7 separate regions of the Homo sapiens genome follow, and all the other regions are linked to region 3. Evidence: promoter capture Hi-C in 16 types of primary human blood cells and fetal thymus (Javierre and others, 2016). All regions are on one chromosome and are shown on one strand. Each heading gives the region's core, a stretch centred on a gene start or on the middle of the fragment in contact. The rest is flanking DNA. Distances are from core to core; before and after follow the strand shown. Region 1 overlaps LOC112268038 (a long non-coding RNA gene). Region 2 has its middle 1.8 kb from the start of NIPSNAP3B. Region 3 holds the start of MRPL50 (mitochondrial ribosomal protein L50). Region 4 overlaps ABCA1 (ATP binding cassette subfamily A member 1). Region 5 overlaps TSTD2 (thiosulfate sulfurtransferase like domain containing 2). Region 6 overlaps CT70 (cancer/testis associated transcript 70). Region 7 has its middle 29 kb from the start of CT70.

Region 1 (3,314 bases), core at 206-2,705, 3.8 Mb after region 3:
TGACAACCCTCAAGCGAGAACCGCTTAGCTGAGCCTACTCTGTTCCCCCAATGGTGAGAGTTGATGACTGCTGTTGTTTTAAGTCATCAAGTTTTAGTTTGGTTTGGGATACAACAACAGATAACTGGAACATGCAATAGATCTTATTGATTTCTAAGCCTGCACCTTTGCTTAAGTCATTTTATACCTGAGAGTTCTCTTTTTCTCCCATCATCTTCACTTATCCAAAGCTACGTGTTAAGGACCAGCTGAAACACAATTTATGAAGCCTTTCCTAATCATTGCATTTGTGACCTGTTCTTTCCCTGTACTCTGGACACTGTATATGTTCTTCATGATTAACAGGTCATTCAGGAGAACCCCCTCCCTGTCCTTAATAAAATAAAATGTTTTATAATATTAAAATATTTAAATATAGTTTTTTTAAGTACATGCTTTTGTCAAAACTACAAAAAATTCAAAAGTTATAATTCAGAACATGTCTCTCTTCTGTCTGGTTCTATTTCACCACGATTTATCCCCACCTCTTCTCCAAAGGTTACTGCTGTTAACAGATTGGTACATATTCCTCACAACCTCATCTACACAAACATGCACACACGTGCTTGTGCACACACAGTTTACATCACACACACACAACGATTGACATGAACAGGATTCCATCATAATCCTGTTTTGTAAACTACTGTTTTTAGTTGATGGTATATTTTAGTTATGCATAGCCCATGTCATTAAATACAGATTGCTCTTACTTTTTAACAGTTGCATAGTGCTTCCTATTATTTAAGCAATTACTTAACCAATCTTCTGTTTATGGAAATTTAGTTTTCTCTCAATTTGTCCTTATTAAAAACAAAACTGTATTGCTGTTGGATATTCTCAGGGTAAGAACTGCTGGGTTAAAAGAATACACCTTTTACATTTTGATACAAATTCTTAAACTTCTCCCCAGAAAGAGGGTAACTATTTATATCACCATTAATCATGTATAGAGTACTGTGACCTTCTCTCACACTGGTTATTATTAAGCTTTTAAATCTTTGCCAATTTGCTAGGTGAGGAATGATGTCTCCTAATTTTTAAGCTTACAGTTTTATTATTAGTAAGGCTGAGCAACATTTCACGTTTTATTAGTTCTTGTATTTCTTTCACTGTGGATTTTGTCTGTTATGTCCTTTACTCATATTTCTGTGGAGTGGGTTTTTTTTTCTTTTTTCTTTTGGTTTTAAATAGGAGCTTCTTGTGTATTATGTAAACCTTTACATAGACTTTGCAAGTATTATTTATCTCTTTGTCATTTGTATTCATTTTGTAGTATCTTTTGCATGTAGGAGTTTTAAAATGTTTATGTAGTTAATCCTATCTGTCTTTTACTATGGTATTAGGTTAGTGTTATCCAAAGAAAAGCCTTTTATAATTCCAATATTAGAAAAATTATTATTATTATTATTTTTTGACAAAATTTGGCTCTATTGCCTAGGCTGCAGTGCAGTGGTGCCATCTTGGCTTACTGCAACCTCTGCCTCCCAGGCTCAAGCCATCTTCCCATCTTCAGCCTCCTGAGTAGCTGGGACTACAGATGCACACCACGACGCTCGGCTAATTTTTGTATATTTTGTAGAGACAGGATTTCGCCATGTTGCCTAGGCTGGTCTTGAACTCATGAGCTCAAGAGATCTGCCTGCCTCAGCCTCCCAAAGTGCTGGGATTACAGGTATGAGCCACTGTGCCCAGCCAGAAAAATAAACCTATTTTATACCAGAAGTTTTACAGTAAAACAACAGCAACAACAAGTATTTTAAAAAGTAGTAATCTAATATTTAAGATAAGCTTTCCTTTGAGACATTCTAGGCATTTATAAATCTAAATTCCTAGGGACTCATTGACAAAATTCATTCATTCATTGAATAAATATTTATGAAACATTCCTGGATACCAAACTGTTTTCTAGGCTTTTGGTACACAGTGGGAACTTGTCTAGTGGAAGTAAGAAAGGGTTAATAGGGAAAAAAATGTAACAGCATTTTTTAAATAAAAAAAAAAAAATCAATCTTTGTGGACCTCCTTTACGCTTATATAGTATGTGGACTTTTCCCTTTCATTACATTTAAACTATACTCTGTTCTTGGTTTAAATATCTTTCCACCCCTTAAGAATGATCTAAAGGCAAGGAGTGTACTTCGTCTTTGAATCCCAGGCACCCAGCTAGGTATTTGGTTCATTATAATGGCTCAAGACATGCACTGTTAAATAAATAGATTTCCCTACTTTACAAATTTCTTCTTTCCTTCTCAAATTAATACTCATCACCCTGCTTCCATTTCCTCTCCTTCCTCATCCCAGCATCCCAAAATGAAAAACCAACACTAATTTTATGTTGGAAACAGCTCAAATCCCTGAGAACTGATGCATGAGCACAGGCTACTTAATCAAAATCGAACATGCTTAGCTCATAGAAAGCAGTCAATATAAAAATTATTAAATGAATTGAATGACTACAATGTTTAAAAAAGTCATTCAGAAAAGTAGTAGGAGGAAGATACACCCCTCTAAACACAAGTTTATAACAAGCATTTTAAAGAGAATTCATACATTGTTTGATCTTGCAACAAAAATCCAAGTGAAACCACAAATAAAAGCCAGAGTTATTAATAAATATTGGAGGAACATCAACTTACAAGTGTGACCAGAAACAAAGTTGCAGAGCTAAGGACTTAAGAATTGCCAGTCTTGCTGAATACAATGTTGTCTTTTTCTGTTGCATGCCTGAGTTAGGGAAAGCTCTCTTCAGGTAAAGTGGATTTCTAACTTCTGGTTTAACTGGGAGGCTGAGATACATTTCTACCTTCTCAAATAGAGACTGCTCTTGCCTCTCTGGCAATGAATGAACAGTTACAGCCCTTGGTTACAATTAGTTTTGGCTTTTGGAGCATCTCCCTGGGGTGATATGTGAATGCTCAGGAGGAAGAGGTTGTGAGGCAAATCTGGAAGCTAGGGCTCTGCTGAAGCAAATAAGCTCTTGTGGGATGTGACTGTGAGCACAGTATGTGCTAAAATGTAAATAACACAGCCACAGCACCAAATGCCACGGTTTTTAAATTAAGAGGACTATTCTGAGCAGTTATAGACATATACATGTAGAGACGCATTTGTATTTCTGTTACCCCAAAACCTGAAATCATGTGAACAAGAAGTCAGGCTTCATAAAAATCATTGGAAAGACCATTAATTCAATGTTTTCCCTCAGTGAGTGACCAGCACCAAGACCTCCACCTGAAGCTGGAACCCTTGGAATTCACACAGCCAATTATGCA
Region 2 (2,994 bases), core at 214-2,713, 3.4 Mb after region 3:
CCTGACCTTTAAAAAAAAAAAAAAACATGCAAGAACATCATCAAGTAGATTGTTCCCTTTGCCCACTTCTTGTAATTCCCACCATCCTTCAGCTAATACTTATTTGTTATGAGAGGTGTAAAAATGCATCTTCACACTCATCAGATCAGATGGGCAATAATAAGAAATTGGTCAGGAAAACCTCATACACTGCTATTAAGAATATACATTTATAGAACAGTTTGGCACGATTTAATAAAGATGAATATATACATAACTTATGACCCAGCAATTCCATTCCTAATTATATACTCTAGAGTAGTGGTTTGTAACCTCTAGTACACAAATCCTGAAGGATAGAATTCAGAGTCTGATAACTTGGATAGGTAAAAGTTCCATCTTTATTGGCACCAACTTCTAAGCATTTCCTTTGTTTGTGAAGGTAGGCAACAAACCACAATATTATTAGCAGGACCTGCAACTTTTTAGTCAGTAAAAATCACAGATACTGTCAAATTCTATTTATAGTTGTTGCAAATACAGAAAATTTATTTTACCTTCATCACTACTTCAAAATTATTATACCTCTTACACCTACCATTAGATATTGTTATTTAATATCTTATAAAGAATAGGTCTATTTCTTTATCAAGAATTTGCTTTTAGCAGTCCTAAGCAAAAAGAACAAAGCTAGAGGCATCACACTACCAGCCTTCAAAATATACTATAAGCTATAGTAACCAAAACAACATGGTACTGGGATAGAAACAGAAACAGACCAATGGAACAGAATATATAACCCAGAAATTAATCCATACATCTACAGCCAACTGGTTTTTGACAAAGGTGCCAAGAACATACACTGGGGAAAAGACAGTCTCTTCAATAAATAGTGCCAGGAAAACTGGATATCAATATGCAGAAGAGTGAAACTAGACCCCCACCTCTCACTCTATACAAAAATTCAGTTCAATGGGTCAAAGAGCTAAGTGTAAGACCTGAAACTAAAAGTACTAGAAGAAAATATAAGGGAAATGCTTCCGGACATTGTCTGGGAAAAAGTTTTATGAATAAGATTTCAAAAGCACAGACAACAAAAGCAAAAATAGATTATGTCAAACTAAAAAGCTTCTGCACAGCAAATGAAAAAATCAACAGAGTGAAAAAACCACCTATAGAATGGGAAAAAATAATTGCAAACTATTCATCTGACAGGGATTCATATCCAGAATATACAAGAAACTCAAACATCTCACCAGCAATAAAAACCAAACAAATCAATTTAAGAATGGGCAAATGATCTGAACAGACATTTCTCCAAAGGAGACATACAAATAGCTCACAAATACATGAAAAATGTTCAACATCACTCATCATCAGGGAAGTGAGGTATTATCTCACCCCAGTTAGGCTATTATCAAAAAGTCAAAAAACAAAGCTGATGAGGATGCAGAGAAAAGGAAAATCGTATACACTGTTGGGAATGTAAACTCTTAGAACTACTATGGAGAACACTATGGAGTTTCCTCAAGAAACTACAAATAACCCACTACTGAGCATTATCCAAAGGAAAAGAAATCAGTATATCAGAAAGACATCTTCCCTCCCCCATGTTTATTGCAGCACTGTTCACAATAGCCAAGATACAGAATCAGCCTAGGTGTCCAGCAAGATTAATGGATAAAGAAAGTATGTTATATATACACAATGGAATACTATTCAGCAGTAAAAAGGAATGAAATCCTGTCCTTCACAGCAACATGGCTGGAACTGGTGGATATTATGTTAAGTGAAATATGCCAACAAGAGAAAGTTGCACACCACATGTTCTCATTAATGTATAAGCTTTAAAAAAAGTTGATTTCAGAAATAAAAAGTATAACAGGATTCTAGAGGATGGGAAAGATTAGGAGGAAGACAAGGATGGGAGAGATTTGTTAAACAAAATTATAGCTAGATAGGAGGAATAAGTTCTAGTGCTCTATACCACTTCAGGATAACTATAGTTAATAATATATAGTTTCAAATTGCTAGGAGGATATTGAATGTTCTCAACACAAATGATAAGCCCCCGGGGGAGTGGCTTCTGTGAGACCTAAATCCTCATCTGCCACAGAAGGAAGGCAACACATACTCTCCATAACTGAAAATGCAAGAAATAGCAGAAAATGACTATTATTTAAAAATACGGGCCAGGCGCAGTGGCTCGTGCCTGTAATCCCAGCACTTAGGGAGGCTGAGCCGAGAGGATCACCTGAGGTCAGGAGTTCAAGACCAGCCTGCCCAACATGGTGAAACGCCGTCTCTACTAAAAATAGAAAAATTAGCCAGGTGTCGTGGCGTGCGCCTGTAATTCCAGCTACTCAGGAGGCTGAGGCAGGAGAATCTCTTGAAACCGGGAGGCGGAGGTTGCAGTGAGCCAAGATCATGCCACTGCACCCCAGCCTGAGCGACAGAGCAAGACTCTGTCTCAAAAAAATAAAAAACATACGGAAACAGGTATTAGAAGAACAGCTTAAAATGTTGAAGGTGGTTAGTCTGGGGACCAGTACTCTGGGACTGGGAGGACTAGACCAGAGGTCGGCTGTTTTGCTCTTAAGGCTTACAGAACGATCTAGTTTCAAACTATCTATGTTTAACTTCGACTTTTTCCTATCAGGCTCGGTGCTGCTATTCCACTGAGCTCATGGAAAATTAAATCTTTATTAGGAGCCTTCCAAGATCACAGTGGGGTGGCAATGGGGACAGATAATGCAGAAAAGCGAAGGCTCACTGGTCTACAAATACACGTCTATCACAACCTGTAAAAGTTAACCCTGTCCCAGCCTGGCCAATATGGTGAAACTCCGTCTCTACTAAAAAATACAAAAATTAGCGGGGCGTGGTGGCGGGCGCCTGTAGTCCCAGCTACTGGGGAGGCTGAAGCAGGAGAATGGCGTGAACCCGGGAGGCGGAGCTTGCAGTGAGGCGACATCGCGCCAGTGCACTCCAGCCTGGGCGACAGAGCAAGACTAC
Region 3 (2,980 bases), core at 398-2,897:
AGAAACAGAGAGTAGGATGGTGGCTACCAGGGGTGGCGGAAATGAAGAGACGTTGGACAAAGGTAAAATTTAAATTATGTAGAATGAATAAGTTCCAGAGATCTAATGTACACCATGGTGACGATCATTAATAATACTGTACTGTATACTTGAAATCTTCTGAGAGTAAATCTTAAGTGTTTTCACCACACACACAAAAATTCTAACTGGCCAGGTGTGGTGGCTCACCCCTGGAATCCCAGCAATTTGGGAGGCCAAGGTGGGAAAATTACTTGAGTCCAGGAGTTCAAGACCAGCCTGTGCAACATAGTGAGAACTCCTTTCTCTAAAACAAAACAAAACAGAAAGTATGTGAAGAGATGAATATGATAATTATCTTGACTAATAATCAACATCAAGTTGTATATCTTAAATATATAAAATTTTTAAAATAGTAAAGAAAATATAATCATCATTCTCAGTAATCTATTTCCTCTAGTTTTCTTCATAATTTACCACTTTCTGAAATTACATTACACATTTGTTCATTTCTTCCTCCATTAGAACATATGCCCTACGAGAACAAAAATTTGGTCTGTTTTAGTAACCACTGTATTCTTACAACACCTAAGATATAGCCTGGCATATAGTAAACAGCCTAAAAAATATTTGTTGAGTGAATGAATAAAACAAACTTGGAAGAGATTTGAGAGATAATAACAAATATTGACCAAAGAAGAGGGAAAGCTAATATCTGAACTGATGAAAAAGATCTTTCCTAATTGTAGTGGTTTTTGTTTTAAACCTAAGAGAGCATACATTGCTCCCTAGGGTTCCTACCATACGTTTTGATTTCCTAAACACTATCTAAGTCAAATTAGATTTACCTTCAAACAATTACACATGGTGCAGCCGTGCAGCAGAAAAAGCAGTAGATGGGGAGTTAGGAGACATATGTTCTAGATCCAGCTTTGCAATTAACTTGCTTTGTGACTTTGGGAAAATCACTTCCCTCCTGTGGGCCTGTTTCCTCATATGTTGGAGTACCTCGAGGATGAGAATGGATTTTGTTTTTCCTGCTGTATCCTAGGCGCTTAGAGTAATGCTGGCCCTAAGAAATCTGTTGAATGACTGAATGAATGAACAAACAAAAGGAGGAGGCAGTACTTCATTACTGAACCTTGCTTGTGAAGAAACACAGCCGGCAAATGAGTTTAGTTTACCAAGCGCTTTCATGTGTTTGCAGACAACACACTCGGTGTCTCGCACACGAGGTTAATCCTGCTTGCTTAATAAATAAATGAATGAGTGAAGTGAAAAGGAAAGGGGGTGGTATTTCCGTTATAAAATGAGAAAACTAAGGCCGAGAGTGGAAGAGACTGGGTCCCACCACTCAATGAGTGCTTCTCAACTCGGGACCCTAACCGGACCTCCTTGTCCTTGCTCTGATCAGGCGCGGGACCACGATGGCGTAACACTCTATTTTGAATTCGTCCCTAATCCTCCTTAACTTTCCTTGAACATGACCCACCGTCCACCATAAAGCTTTACCTGAATCGAGACCAAAATTCTCTACATGGTGTCCCTGAGACTGTCCACATGAAGACTCTTCTGGTAATGCCCGACACAGATCGCGCCGCCATCTTCGATGAGATCCACGGGCCTGAGCGCAGCCTTCAGCCAGCAGTGACGCGCCCAGACCAGCCAATCGGATACAATCCCAGTGGCAAGAGCTTTCTTTTTCCTGTAGGCTCCCTCGCCCTTTGCACGCTGGGAAATGTAGTCCAGTAGCTGTTGCTGGCGGCGTCTGGACCGCGGCGCTCTTTCCGAGCATGACGGGAGTTGTAGTTGAGGGGGCCTCGGGAAGAATCTGGGTGACGCCTTCTGGTCCGGGGGCGGGCGGTCATAGCGTTACTTGGCTGCAAGGAGGAGGAACTGGCAGCGGGGAGGAGGCTCTAGCGAGGCCTGAAAGGCTGCGTAACCAGGCAGGAGTAGGGGTTGGGGTTCGGGGTTGGGGGACAGCCAGGGATCGCGTCTGATATGCTGTTGGGGTCGTGACCGTCTGGGGGCCGAGGCAGGCACTGGCCAGACCCAGCCAGGGATCCTCGTATTCGTCGAGCCTAATTTCCAGCAGCCGGGTAGGCCTCACCAGAGGCTCCTTTCCGTGAGGCCGCCCCCAATTCCTGCCCCTATTCTCTGCCTGGGAGATGGCTTCCCCGAGCCCCCCGCCGGAGTCGAAGGTAAGTAAGCACCCCCCCGGGGATCCCGGTTGTCTCGCCGCTACCCCAGCTAGGCCGCACCACTGCTTTCTCCCCCAGGCCCCCCACCAACCTCCTGACCGCCTCTTTAGGGCCAGCGCCTTGCAAGGAACTCCCCACTAGTGCATTGGGGTGCGGTTCGCGAACAAACTGCCCACTGGCTCCCTTTTTTTTTTTCTTTTTCTAGAGAGACTTGATAAATCGGCCTGAGAAAATAAGTAATGCTCCAGACTAGCTCTCTCATTTGTGAGTTCTCCAGGTGAAGCACCATTTTTGACCTTCCCTTGTGTCTTCTGTTCCTGGCACAGTGCCTGGACCCCAAGGTACACGCTTAGAGAACCTCAAGGAATTGAATTGAATAGAGTCACAAGCCAGTGCAAATGGAAAATTGAAGTAGGCAATGAGGTGAGGGAAGCTTGGAGAGGCCTTGGGGCAGTTTACTAAAATTAAACTCTCAGGGCATAATAAATCAGAAAAGCCTTATCCGTAGGTCCTTTCTAGTCTGAGATGTCTGTCAGTTACAGTTCGTTCCCAGAATTGGGCAACATATGGAACTTTCAGTTATCATGTTCCTCCTAGCCTACTTGGCCACAATAAGTGATTGCCTCTGTCACTTTTAGTGGTAGAATTGTCCTTGAGACAACAGGAACTGACTACAGAAATCATACTATTTCAGGGGTTGCTGACATTTGAGGATGTGGCTGTGTTTTTTACCCAGGAGGAGTGGGATTATCTGGACCCAG
Region 4 (2,919 bases), core at 405-2,904, 3.4 Mb after region 3:
AATAAGAAATAGCAGAGTGCACTACAATTAGTAACAGTAGGTACTGCTTTATGAAACTTTAGGTTATACATGTGTCTACATGTCTGTGTGTACATACTAGGTTGAGATATAAAATGTATTTCCCACAACGGTCATGGTCAAAAAACTCTGAAAGCCACTGCCTTGTACTATCTCTCCACATAATAAGTCCAGAGAAGCCGGGCGCAGTGGCTCATGCCTGTAATCCCAGAACTTTGGGAGGCTGAGGCAGGTGGATCACCTGAGGTCAGGAGCTCGAGACCAGTCTGGCCAACATGGTGAAACCCCATCTCTACTGAAAATACAAAAAAATTAGGCAGGCATTGTGGCGGGCACCTGTAATCTCAGCTACTCAGGAGGCTGAGGCAGGAGAATCGCTTGAACCTGGGAGGCGGAGGTTGCAGTGAGCCAAGGTCGCGCCATTGCTCTCCAGCCTGGGCAGTAAGAGTGAAACTCCGTCTCAAAAAAAAAAAAGCCCAGAGAAGCCCCACATATTTAAAGTACTTAGAGTAACATTATCTAAGAAGCCTATAAAATGTAGCTGTATTCCCAAAGATCAGATTGCTTTGTGACCTGTGCAGTCTCAGAAAATGGCCTAACGGTGGCTCAGTCAATTTGTATGCTCTTTAGAGAGGGCAATTTACTTTGTAGGAATTGTTCCTGAGGAAATAATAAAAGATGTATACAGGGACATATTTACATAGTGAAAAATGGAAACTAATGTGTCCAACATTTATAAGGAATTTATTAAATAAATTATAGGTACATGTACATAGGGGGATTTTATGTAGCAATGTAAAATTCCACATCTTAGGAAATGTAACCCACTGGGAAATATTCATAATACACTCATTAACAATAAAAACTAATTTTAAATTCTACATACAGTATGATCTCAATTGTATGGCACATTTATATGTGTATATAAGACAGATGTGGGGTGATGGAAAAGTTCTAAAACTGGATTGTGGTGATGGTTGCAAAACTCTCAATTTACCAAAAATCACTAAATTATACTCTTAAAAAACAAGCAAATTATATTGTATGTAAATTATACCTGAATAAAGCTGTTAAAAGAAGAGAATGAGACTGAAAGGAAATGTAAATTGTGATTATCTCTAGATATTGAAATCATGGATGATTTTATGTGCTTCTTTACCCTTTACTATATTTCAACATTTTTATGAACTCTAAAAATACCACTGTAATCAAAAATAACAACCTATTTCTTTAAATAAATTAAAAACAAAGTCTTTGCAGCAAAATACAAGCCACTTCTTTTCTCACCTATTTTTGTTAAGGAAAGCATCTCCTCTGGTAACAGTGGTATCTCCTGTTAACATCTTGAAAGTTGATGATTTTCCAGCCCCATTAACTCCCAGGAGCCCAAAGCACTGAAAAGGAAAGATTAAGTTGTATAAGCAAACTCTAAAAACATGAATATAAATGCCCCTAACACGTAACTACCTCAAACCTTCAATTCTTAAATATCAGAGAAGAATCAAATATTTTCTTGGTTTTAACACATCGTATAGATATTTAAATATGTATTTCATAATGGGACCATTTTAAGTGTGGCTGTATTTATAAATATTATTTGAGTTGTCAAGTTGAGGCCAAAGTTAATGTGTGAAAAACAGTAATGAAAGCCAGCTAGCCAAATTGCACCACCTACTCTGGCAAAAGGGCATAAAAGAACACAAACGGAAACCAGAAAGGAGAAAATCTATTTTTAAAAAACTATTTGAATGTCATCACCATCCCAAATGGATCACAAAAGCATGTTTTAGATGTGCGTGCTTTTTCTGTTTTTGTTGTTGACATGAGTCTCACTCTGTCACCAGGCTGGAGTGCAGCAGCGCAATCTGGGCAACCTCCCCCTCCTAGGTTCAAGCAATTCTCCTGCCTCAGCCTCCCGAGTAGCTGGGACTACAGGAATGCACTACTATGCCCAGCTAATTTTTGTATTTATAGTAGAGATGGGGTTTCACCATGTTGGCCAGGATGGTCTCAATCTCCTGACCTCGTGATCCGCCCACCTCGGCCTCCCAAAGTGCTGGGATTACAGGAGTGAATCACTGCGCCCAGCCCCATGCTTTTTCTTAAATTGTATTGGATTCTCTGAAATCATTCTCTTGACATACAGGGTCCCTCTCTTCTCGATGACTAATTGCTCCATCCTGGCATAAATACAGAAGCCTTTAAAATCCACTTTTACCTCTTAACGAGCATCGTTGCTTGATTGGGTAGAGATAGTCTGAACTAATAGGGACAAACGCAATATAGACAAAGTGTCTTTACCTCACCAGGAGGAATGCCCACGCAAATCCTGTCAACAGCAGGCTTCCGCTTCCTTCTATATATCTGCAACAAACAAAATGTAAACATTCATAAGCCTCAGTGACTCACAGCTCTCCCAAGCAACTGTGGAAGGCAGGACTATAAACCACATACACTGCAACATAAGACTTGTCAATAACCCTAAGCCATAGGCATATTTGATGTGCCAAGAGCCTTGGTCTGCGTTTGTGGCGACTGGCTTCTGAATGATTCTGAAGCTCAAAATAAAAGTGAACTTACTTTTTAACCTGTCTTTTTAGAACCGTATCATTCATTATTATCTACATAATTTTTCATCTATTCAACATATATATGTATTGCAGGTATTTTAAAAATTAAATTCCACAGAGTAGAAATTTGTAATAAAAATATTGCAAATACTGTACAGATTCCAAAAAAGTAAAATTTGGAGATGCTGGCATCTAGAGGGCTGATATAGACCCTCTTGAACACAGGCAATATATCAGCTTTTTGGACTATGAAACTCAAACTCAAAATCAACCATTTATTCTCTCTACCTCAGTTTTGACTAGATATACAATATTAGTATGTTTTAATAAC
Region 5 (2,954 bases), core at 378-2,877, 3.8 Mb before region 3:
ATTCCTTTCAGTTAAATACCTCCTAGAATATAAATAAGAAAGAAGCAGCCATGCTATTCTTTGATTTCTTGAAGAAAATATGAAGCTAATCAATCACGCAAATCAGCATGGGCAAAGTAGCCCAAGCTAACCATCCATTTACTTACTAAATCAATAGTATTTACTTAGGAACGACTCGAAGTCAAGCACTATTCTAAGCACTGAGAATATAGCAGTAAACGAAAGTGAAAAAGTTTCTGCCTGCTTAGAGTTTACATTCCAGTGGGGTGAAGTAAACAAGTGGATAAATTGATTTTTTATTTTTAAAGTCAGATGGTGTAAAGGTTATGAAGAATAATCAGCAGGGTAGGGAGGCAGTGATGGAGAAGCCCTTCGAACACAGAGAGTAGGAAAAGCCTTTCTGCAGCAATAGCATTTGAGCAGAAACCTGAATTAGGGAGCGAGCCATGCAGTCATTAGGGTAAATAATACCAGAAAAGCAACAGGTACAACCCAAATCAATCAAGATGTGTGCCAGCACCTTCAGTTATAAACACTTTCTTCTTTTTGCCCCTTAATTTCAGAGCTATGAAAATTTCCTTCCTTAGAAGAAATAGTTCCCAAGACAGCCCCACTGTAATATGCCAGAAGAAATGTCAAAATCGCTACTGTGGCCAAATCTTGTCAAAATGGACACACTACAACCATCATACCATGTTGGTTCTTTTGTAAAGCAAAGGTGACAGGTGACAAGCACTAAGAGGCACACTGAGAAAAAGTATGGGCTTTGGTTTGTGCTGCAGCAGTTTGCCAAGCATGTGAACATGGGCAAGCTACTTAAGGTTTCTGAGTTCTAAATCTCTCTTGTGGAAATTGTGCATTGTAGTATCTACATTACAGTACTGTACTGTAGACTGGAAAGAAATATTAATATATAGTGTCTGGCACAAACTAGGGTTCAATGAATGGTAATATTATTAATATTTTAATTGAATGCTGTATTTTAAATTTAACATTAAAATTTTATTTAAAAATTAGCTGTGACAGATTATATTTTCCAAAAATGGCTGCAGCAGTATTTCTGGTCCATTTCCCTAAGCCTAGGCAGGCTTGTTAACTACTCCCAAAAATAAAGCGTGATGGAAGCAATGCTGTATGACTGAGGTTGGGTTCTCAAAAGGATACGCTAGTGCAAGCTCTCATTCTGAGATGCTCACGCTGAGGAGACCAAACCACTGTATTGTGAGTAAGCCAATCCAACCCATGCAGAGACCACACACAGAGAACCAGGTGGAGAGGAACAGAGGCCTCCAGCTGACAGCCAGCATCAACCACTAGACCCTTCAGATTCCAGATTGGCCTCTGAGCTGAGAGCAGAGACAAGGTGTCCCTGTTGTGCCCTGTCCAAATTCCTGCCCCACAACATAACAACTGGTTATTTCATATTACTAGTGAACTGGCAAAGTTAGTTTCTTCAGGACAATATTGAAGGAGGCAGCCAGAGGTGGACACTGAAGGTTCTGAAAATAGTAACATGCAAAGTAGTCCCAAACTCCACAAGAGGGAGCAGAAAAAGCACCACTAAGAATGAGAGAAAGGAAGGTGGGAGACACTGGTGACAAACTTTGCCAATTCACAACTCTGCCTACAGGGTACCTCAACCAGGTGAAGGCAACAAGGAGCAGTTTATGTGTGGGGGAACACACACTGCTTGTTAACAATGCTGGATAGGACTGATGGAGACTAAACATACACAGACACACACAGGCAATACCAACTTTCTTATAAAGGACCTTTGTTCCTTGGATTCATAAATTAAGATGTCACTTGCACCACATAAAATGCATTTGAATCAGCTAAGTGGTGCTTTCATGGGGCTCAAAATGAGCTTTGTTATAAGGGTAAGGCAAGGTAATACAGATTTATTAAACCTAAATTCTCTTGTATTTGAAAAATAAGTGGAAGAGACTGGGTGAAGAAATACTACCTTCTTTAGCTTCTCTTTCCTTTCTCATGAAAATGTCTTTCATATAAAGTCCCACTGAAAAAAGTACATCCCTAACTCTACACAAACCTGTAAGCCTTCCAGGCAGAAGTAAAATAAGTAGAAGAATCTTATTCAACACACTTCCTCCATGCTCAAAGCTGTTTTATTGTAAAGGTAGAGAAAGTACATATATCATTTCCAAATTAAAATTCATTCAACAAATATTTATGGAGGGTCTTCTAGGTTCCAGGCATTGTTCTAGAAACAGATAACTTATTTACCTATAAGGGCAGTACATTTGGGAGGTAACATTGTCGAAAGGAATTACTATCCAATCCGGTCCCACCTCCAGCATCTTTTCCAATCTCCCTCTATATGACCTGATGTAGTCTGTCCCAGCATTTATGCTTTCCACTGCTTTGTTTCCCTTACTTTTTCACTTCTTTCCCTCCCCATATGCTTACTATGTATATGAAGACTGAACTCAAGTGTCACCTTTCACTTATGTCTTGTCTGCTACCCTGTGTCACTGCTTCCTTTGAAGGCCTGAAAAACTTAGTTTCCCTATACTCTAGGCTCATCTCTGACTATGCTCCCCATTCCCCATCAGATATCCTACTCTAGCCACACTGGACCATGCCCAGTTCCACAAATGAGCCATGTTCTTTCCTGACTCAAGGTCTCTGCACCTGAGTGTGGGGTGCCTTTCCCACCACCCCAAAATGATCTCCTCCGACTCTGCATCTTTTTTCAGTCTCAGCTTATTTTGATTTATGTACATACTCTGAATTATTATTATTTGTGGCACCTCTGCTATGTGCCGGGCCCATGGAATAGTCCTGGGAATGCAGCTATGAATGAAACAGTTGAAGTACCTGCTCTCTTGGAGCTTATATTCTGGTAAGGAGAGACATTAAGTAAGTAATAAACAAACAAACAAACAAACAAACAAATCATGAAAATACCAGCTAGGGATAACGGCCCCTGC
Region 6 (3,310 bases), core at 142-2,641, 3.6 Mb after region 3:
TTAGACAAGTTGAGTTCACATGCCAGCCCTGCTGCTTATCAGAATGGGGAGTTTGGGCAAAGTGGCTAACAGCCCATCGCCTCCACTTCCTCATCTTCAAGGCTGCCACTTCACGAGATATTATTATGAAGATTGAAAGAGATAAAGTACATAAGATGCTAGCCCAATGCTCAGAATAAATATTTAATAATTACAGCTATTATTAAATCCTGGTTATGGATGGAAGAGTGGACTTGGTAAAAGTCCAAGCCGCAGCAGGTTTGAGAATAAAATAACCTACATTGACTGCTTTGAGTGTTTATCAGTTTGTAGACTTCATTTATATCAACTTTAAAAAGGATAATCTCTCTTCCTCAGGCCCACTGTTTTTACACTCTGATTATAATTAACTTGCCTCTTAATGACACTGCATTCATGACTGATGTTTCCCAGTTGTAGGTTTTTTAATTCCTATATTTCTCATAAACGTATTTGGTAACTGAATCTAGCAAATGAGTACAAAACAAAGAGTCATAGCCCTTTACCTTTAATGTCTATGAAGTGAAAGAGATCAAAGGGGAAACTCTGAACTTACTGTCTCATTTATGAGAAGCTTTGGAACAATTTATGAAGGCGACAGATGTTCTGCTTCCTAGAACCTTTTTGTTCCATCCCCAAATCTATATTTTCCTTTAGTATATTGATTTCTTGTTACAGAGCAGGAATAGCTATTAAATATCTTTATTTGGAAGCTTGGGGGTGCCAGAATGTGAGAGGAAAAATGCATCAGTAGCTAAGGGACAGTTGATGGGGTGGGTGCAGGAGGGCCCAAGAGAAGGTAATCTGTGTCTGGGAAATTATTTACAATTTGAAAGGCACAGAGACTTGCCAGAGGAAGAAAAGAGGGAGCAAATGAGAGAAGCATCCAATCACGCTGAGCCCTTTGATGGATGAGGAAGATACTTTAAAAGATGAGAAAGCACTTTCCCTATCAGCCAGATGGCTCATCTAATCTCTCTTTGTAGCTAGCAGCAGAGGGGAAAGATCCAGTGTAAAAAATTATGGAATATCTGTTGGGAATAAGCTGATGCAAACCAATCACAAATCGAAGTGTTTTTCTTTTCAGTTTTGATGAGGGGACACTGATTTCTATTTGGGGGTGGGACTGGATTTTGACTACCAAAATGTAGCTGGAAATTGAGTTGATTGATTATGAACAATGTTCCAAACACTGTTTCTCTCAGCAATGCAAATAACATTTCTGTGGTGTATTTATAGTTTCAAAGCATCCTCACCTGCATTCTCTGATTTTATCTTATAAATAGCCCTGTGAGGTAGGTGTCATTATCCTCATTTTATACTTGAGATAAGTGAGGCTTACAGAAATTAATTAACAACAGTCTCCAAACTTGGGTCTGTTTTACTATACTAGCTTTCTTTGGGTCTTCCAACAAATGGCAATCTATGGCCACAGTTCCCACAAACAGCTTTCTTTTTTTTTTTTTTTTTTTTTTGGTGGGGGGAGGGGCGGGGGGCATCTCTGCCAAGCATCTCCTAGATTTCCATAATGTTTTTCCCTCCAAGCCAATTCCATGATCCTTGGCATCTCTCAAAGGCCTGAAGAGGCCACCTGAGGTTGCCTGGAGGGTGAGTGCTAGGAGTGGAAAAGGGTGGCACAGTCCTATGAGCCACTAAGCTACTGCTTCCCTTGGCTTTGGGGGACGCGGTGTCCTGGTGACATCACTGTCCCCTTGCAGTGCCCTCTCTTGTATCCCCTTAGAGCTCCTGGGCTGCCTTCCAGCCATCCTAAGTATCCCATCCCTTCAAAGTCTGTTTACTTCCATCCCCCTCAGGACATCTCAGCCAGGAAAGCAATCACTTTTTGCACATTACTATCTCCTTAAGATAATTTCTAGCTTAGAGAACAAACAGCCAGGGAAGACAATGTCTTCCTTGGCCACACTGGACATGCTCCATGGGCAGAAAGCCTCCAGGCTTGAAGCTACTTCTCCACTTCCTCCCCTCCTGATAACTTCCTGGCCTGTTGGAACCTCTTCCACAGTCGGTGGTCAATAAGCTTAAAATTGTGCCTACACCCAGAGGACAGGGAGTCTTGCATCAGCTTGGCAGTGCAGAGTAACGCCAGCTATAGTTGCAGAGACCACAATAGTTATTAGTTAGAATATACATGTGCCTGTATTTGAACTTTGGTATCACCACTTGCTAACTGTGGTACGTTCTCTGTGACTCAGTGTATGCATTTTTCAAGTGGGGTAATAATATTACATATAGAGTTATAATGAGGATTAAAAGTGTTGTATATGTAAAGTGCTTAGAATTGTTCTGGCATAAAAAAAACTCCATAAGGATTCAATCAATTAAATTGTTTAAATTCCACTTTTTGAAGTGCCTACTCTATGCTAGGTTCTTTACATCTGAAATTCAGATGCCAGCTGGAGTTATCCTGACCCCTCAGATGGAAATAAGTGGTTAAGACCTCCTTTTCTATGGATTATGGTAAACCAAATAATCTTCCCAAGCCTTCTTTGAATTCCAAAGGGTTCCTTATATTTCTTGATTAGCTCAGGCTCCCAACACCAGCTTCTTCAGAATTATTCTCGTAAGGGATTGTTTTGCTGTAGTCCACATTGTATCTCACAGATGTTTAACTCAAATTAATACTCACAGGAAACTTATAGAGGCGTTCACGTATGTAGTGACATTTATTAAAGTTTGGAAAAAAGGAGGTTTTACATTACAAAAAAACCGTCAATTTTATTTTATTTATTTATATATATTTTTTGAGATGGAGTTTCGCTCTTGTTGCCCAGGCTGGAATGCAATGGTGAGATCTCGGCTCACCACAATCTCCGCCTCCCAGAACCCAATCAATTTTAAATTCAGTATCAGTCATCTCTATTCTTTAAGGCCTTGGACCAGGTCCACATTTTAAGATCTGGCCTCCTGCTGAATTCCTTAATCTTTCTCTCTCTTCCTTTTTCCTAGTGTCTCAGTCCATTCAGGCTGCCATACCAAAATATCTTATGCTGGGTAATTTATAAACAATAGAAATTTGTTGCTCACAGTTCTGGGGGCTGAGAAGTCCAAGATCGTGGTGCCAGCATGGTCATGTTCAGATGAGGGCCCACTTTCTGATTCATAGATGGTACCTTCTCACTGTATCCTAACAAGGTGGAAGGGACAAATAAGCTCCCTTAGTCCTTTTTATAAGGGCACTAATCCCATTCATAAGGGATCTCTCCCCATGACCTAAACACTTCCCAAAGACCACGTCTTAATACTATTGCATTGGAGATTAAGTTGAAACATG
Region 7 (3,153 bases), core at 403-2,902, 3.6 Mb after region 3:
TGGCTGCATGAGTCATCCTGACCCTTAGTAACCTTTGTTGCCTGATTTCCTGTTCTTTCAAATGAGAAAGCTCTACTACATCATTTCTCGGAGAGACCTAAGTCCTCACCTGCCTGGGAGTCTGAAACCTCTGCCCTGGAAAGCCATGCTAGCCAAAAATCAGCAGCCAGGGCTATACATTGATAAACTAACTAAAGTAACAAGGTTTAAGCGAGAAATTCACTCTTAAAACATCGCTCTTTGTTGGTAGAAATGGAGCCCCTCACATAAAAGTATGTTGATCATAGTTCTGTTAACTAAGAACTTTTTTTTTTTCTAAACTGCTGCTGTTTATTCCAGTGGTATGATAATAGAACTTGATCATGTTTATACAGGTCAATGTTTTTTGGCGTTACTTCATATGGGAGTAAGCCCCATAAAGTGAATTCAAGTGTGTGTGGGTGGATGTTATTAGCTGCTGACACTGCCTTGAAGATTTTCTGTTTGCTGCAGCTCTACACCATGGTGTAAAGATGGACCACTTTTCCCTTCTCCGGGTGTGAGGCAATTGAAATAGGCTGTATCTGGCTTTTTGCCTCACAGAGAATCTTGTGTGTAAACCAGCTGAGAAGGTGAAAAGTCAATTGCCCATGGCCAAAAGCTAAGCAGGCTTTCCTTAAAGACAGAGAAACTCTTTCCTACCACCTTCAGCCAAGGCATGAACGGGGTTATAGTCCTGGCCTCAAACAGTTCCAACAATTTAAAGGTTATAAAACGATTAGCAAAAACAGTATGGCCAAAGAGGAAGACTGAAAAGCTTATACAACTCTAGGCTCTATCAGGTAAAGATGGTGTCTTTTTTAAAACCTACTCATAGGCTGGGCGTGATGGCTCACGCCTGTAATCCTAGCACTTTGGGAGGCCAAGGTGGGCAGATTGCCTGAGCTCAGGAGTTCAAGACCAACCTGGGCAACACGTTGAAACCCCGTCCCTACTAAAAATACAAAAAATTAGCCGGGCGTGGAGGCATGCACCTGTAGTCCCAGCTACTCAGGAGGCTCAGGCAGGAGAATTGCTTGAACCTGGAAGGTGGAGGCTGCAGTGAGCCGAGATCACACCACTGCACTCCAGCCTGGGCGGCAGAGAGAGACTCGGTCTCAAATAAAATAAAATAAAATAAAGTAAAATAAAATAAAATAAAATAAAACCTACTCATTAGGTGCTCAGTAGAGTAGTGTGCAAATGTGGGTTCCTAATTAATAAGTCTTGTTTGCTGATAAATGGAAAGGCATTCTCATACACATTATTGAGAACCCAGGAGGACTTGTGATTCAAGGTATAAAGTCGAAGGTGGAAACCAGAAAACAAGTCCTATGTGTTCTTGTTACGAAAAAAAAAAAAGACACATTTTTCAATAGCCAATTATTATAGTGACAATGTGTTACTAAAATAATAAGAAAACAAGGGTTAAAACTTTTCAGCAGAACTGGATTTTCAGTTAAATAGCTTTAATATAGCAAAATACAATATGTTCTCTGCAGGTGGATCTCTTGCTGTTTCAATCCTTTAAAAAAGGTACAAAAAACATCTTTTCTAAAACTGAAAACTGATTGCAAGGGAGAGAAGAGACTCTCGTGTAAGAATTTGGCTCACCTGCCAACTCACTGGTATATATAATTCCAATAGATTAATCTGGCGTTTTGATTTGAAGACGCGAATGGAGAGATGTGTTTAGTGCTTACAATTGCACCTTCTCTCTGCATTCACCATAGACCTGTAGTAGAAAGCCATGCCCTCAGCCTGCACCTGCTCCACTCCTAGAGTAAGAATTTTTTGGCCAAATTTAGGACAGTTAGTGTCAGCTAACCATGTTGTCTCCACTAGTCCCACTGTGTTGCAGGAATGTGGAGACACAAAGCTGCGCAGATGGCTGTCAGCAAGATCCTACCTGCTTTAGTTCTCAGTGCCAAGGAGATCCTATAGTGAGTGATGGCTCATAGGATTGAATTATAAGATAAACTCAGAAAGTTATTTGAAAATGTTAAGTGTGGCTGGGTGCGGTGACTCACGCCTATAATCTCGGCACTTTGGGAGGCTGAGGCAGGCAGATCACCTGAGGTTGAGAGTTCGAGACCAGCCTGAGCAACATGGAGAAACCCCGTCTCTACTAAAAATTCAAAATTAGCCAGGCGTGGTGGCACAATGCCTGTAATCCCAGTTACTCGGGAGGCTGAGTAGGAGCAGGAGAATTGCTTGAACCCAGGAGGTGGAGGTTGCAGTGAGCTGAGATAGTGCCATTGTACTCCAGCCTGGGCAACAAGAGAGAAACTCCATCTTAAAAAAAAAAGAAAGAAAGAAAATGTAAGTGTAACTTCAGTTCCCCAAACTGGTCCGTCTTTTCCTTCCTTTTTTTTCTTTTTGATGGACAATTTCAAGAAATAAAGAAATAAAATGTTACAGACATGTTTGAAGTTCCTTCCAATTTTATTTCCTTCCTTTCCCCTGAATTTGGTGTTTATTAATCCCATACAAGCTTTTTATATTTTCTACATAAAAGTGTCCATAATCAATAACTAGTATTCTTTTGTATGTTCCAAACTTTATATGTGGTATCATACTGACACTGTAGACATCATTCTGTAACTTGCTCTTGCACAAATTATGTTTCTGAGATTTATACATGTTGATAATGCAGTTACTCATTTTCTTTATAATATTCATTTTCTTTGTAATTTCATTTGCAAGTAGCCGGGCGCAGTGGCTCACACCTGTAATCCCTACACTTTGGGAGGCCGAGGCGGGTGGATCACTTGAGGTCAGGAGTTCAAGACCAGCCTGGCCAACATGGTGAAACCCCATCTCTACTAAAAATACAAAAAATTAGCCGGGCATGATGGCAGACGCCTGTAATCCCAGCTACTCGGGAGGCTGAGGCAGGAAAATTGCTTGAACCTGGGAGGTGGAGGTTGCAGTGAGCTGAGATCATGCCACTGCACTGCAGCCTGGGCCACAGAGTGAGACTCCATCTCAAAAAACAAAATAAAATAAGTAATTTCATTTGCTTTGTAATATTCCAGTGAATGAAGTAATCAACTATCCATTCTTCTCTTAAGGGACATTTTATATTGTTTTCTATTTTTGGCTCTCATCATCATGAATGTCATGAATATTTTT

Evidence for each region. The method cuts DNA at HindIII sites, captures the fragments that hold promoters and counts their contacts. A CHiCAGO score of 5 or more calls a contact.
Region 1: a fragment that was not itself captured here is called in contact with the fragment with the promoter of MRPL50 in region 3 in 5 of 17 cell types (total CD4 T cells, total CD8 T cells, fetal thymus and 2 more); the score reaches 10.6 in total CD4 T cells.
Region 2: a fragment that was not itself captured here is called in contact with the fragment with the promoter of MRPL50 in region 3 in 12 of 17 cell types (total B cells, activated CD4 T cells, fetal thymus and 9 more); the score reaches 25.0 in total B cells.
Region 4: a contact is called between a fragment that was not itself captured here and the fragment with the promoter of MRPL50 in region 3, in 1 of 17 cell types (naive B cells). The highest score is 5.4, in naive B cells.
Region 5: a fragment that was not itself captured here is called in contact with the fragment with the promoter of MRPL50 in region 3 in 1 of 17 cell types (naive B cells); the score reaches 6.7 in naive B cells.
Region 6: a fragment that was not itself captured here is called in contact with the fragment with the promoter of MRPL50 in region 3 in 1 of 17 cell types (total CD4 T cells); the score reaches 6.2 in total CD4 T cells.
Region 7: a fragment that was not itself captured here is called in contact with the fragment with the promoter of MRPL50 in region 3 in 2 of 17 cell types (total CD8 T cells and activated CD4 T cells); the score reaches 6.0 in total CD8 T cells.

The regions. Positions count from the first base shown.
Region 1 is chr9:105,238,558-105,241,871 of GRCh38, forward strand. All of the region lies in intron 1 of LOC112268038 (a long non-coding RNA gene), which reads right to left. Among named protein-coding and RNA genes, the nearest start is that of SLC44A1, 4.4 kb to the right of the region's middle. The HindIII fragment of the contact is 746 bases long and covers 1,083-1,828 here.
Region 2 is chr9:104,760,782-104,763,775 of GRCh38, forward strand. No RefSeq gene overlaps it. Among named protein-coding and RNA genes, the nearest start is that of NIPSNAP3B, 1.8 kb to the right of the region's middle. The HindIII fragment of the contact is 717 bases long and covers 1,106-1,822 here.
Region 3 is chr9:101,396,971-101,399,950 of GRCh38, forward strand. It overlaps MRPL50 (mitochondrial ribosomal protein L50), which reads right to left and starts at 1,648. Exons shown (of 2, transcript NM_019051.3): 1 at 1,531-1,648. The coding sequence starts at 1,622. It overlaps ZNF189 (zinc finger protein 189), which reads left to right and starts at 1,881. Exons shown (of 3, transcript NM_003452.4): 1 at 1,881-2,219; 2 at 2,914-2,980. The coding sequence starts at 2,187. RefSeq lists enhancers at 761-1,290, 1,291-1,819, 1,352-1,881. The HindIII fragment of the contact is 1,128 bases long and covers 1,523-2,650 here.
Region 4 is chr9:104,789,617-104,792,535 of GRCh38, forward strand. It overlaps ABCA1 (ATP binding cassette subfamily A member 1), which reads right to left. Exons shown (of 50, transcript NM_005502.4): 43 at 2,320-2,382; 44 at 1,306-1,412. It also overlaps a transcript of NIPSNAP3B not described here. Among named protein-coding and RNA genes, the nearest start is that of NIPSNAP3B, 27 kb to the left of the region's middle. The HindIII fragment of the contact is 6,998 bases long and covers 1-2,919 here.
Region 5 is chr9:97,627,591-97,630,544 of GRCh38, forward strand. TSTD2 (thiosulfate sulfurtransferase like domain containing 2) reads right to left here. Exons shown (of 10, transcript NM_139246.5): 2 at 1-22. Among named protein-coding and RNA genes, the nearest start is that of TSTD2, 4.3 kb to the right of the region's middle. The HindIII fragment of the contact is 6,117 bases long and covers 1-2,954 here.
Region 6 is chr9:104,984,251-104,987,560 of GRCh38, forward strand. It overlaps CT70 (cancer/testis associated transcript 70), which reads right to left. Exons shown (of 4, transcript NR_184160.1): 3 at 3,064-3,163. Among named protein-coding and RNA genes, the nearest start is that of CT70, 5.9 kb to the right of the region's middle. The HindIII fragment of the contact is 1,325 bases long and covers 730-2,054 here.
Region 7 is chr9:104,961,417-104,964,569 of GRCh38, forward strand. No RefSeq gene overlaps it. Among named protein-coding and RNA genes, the nearest start is that of CT70, 29 kb to the right of the region's middle. The HindIII fragment of the contact is 1,716 bases long and covers 795-2,510 here.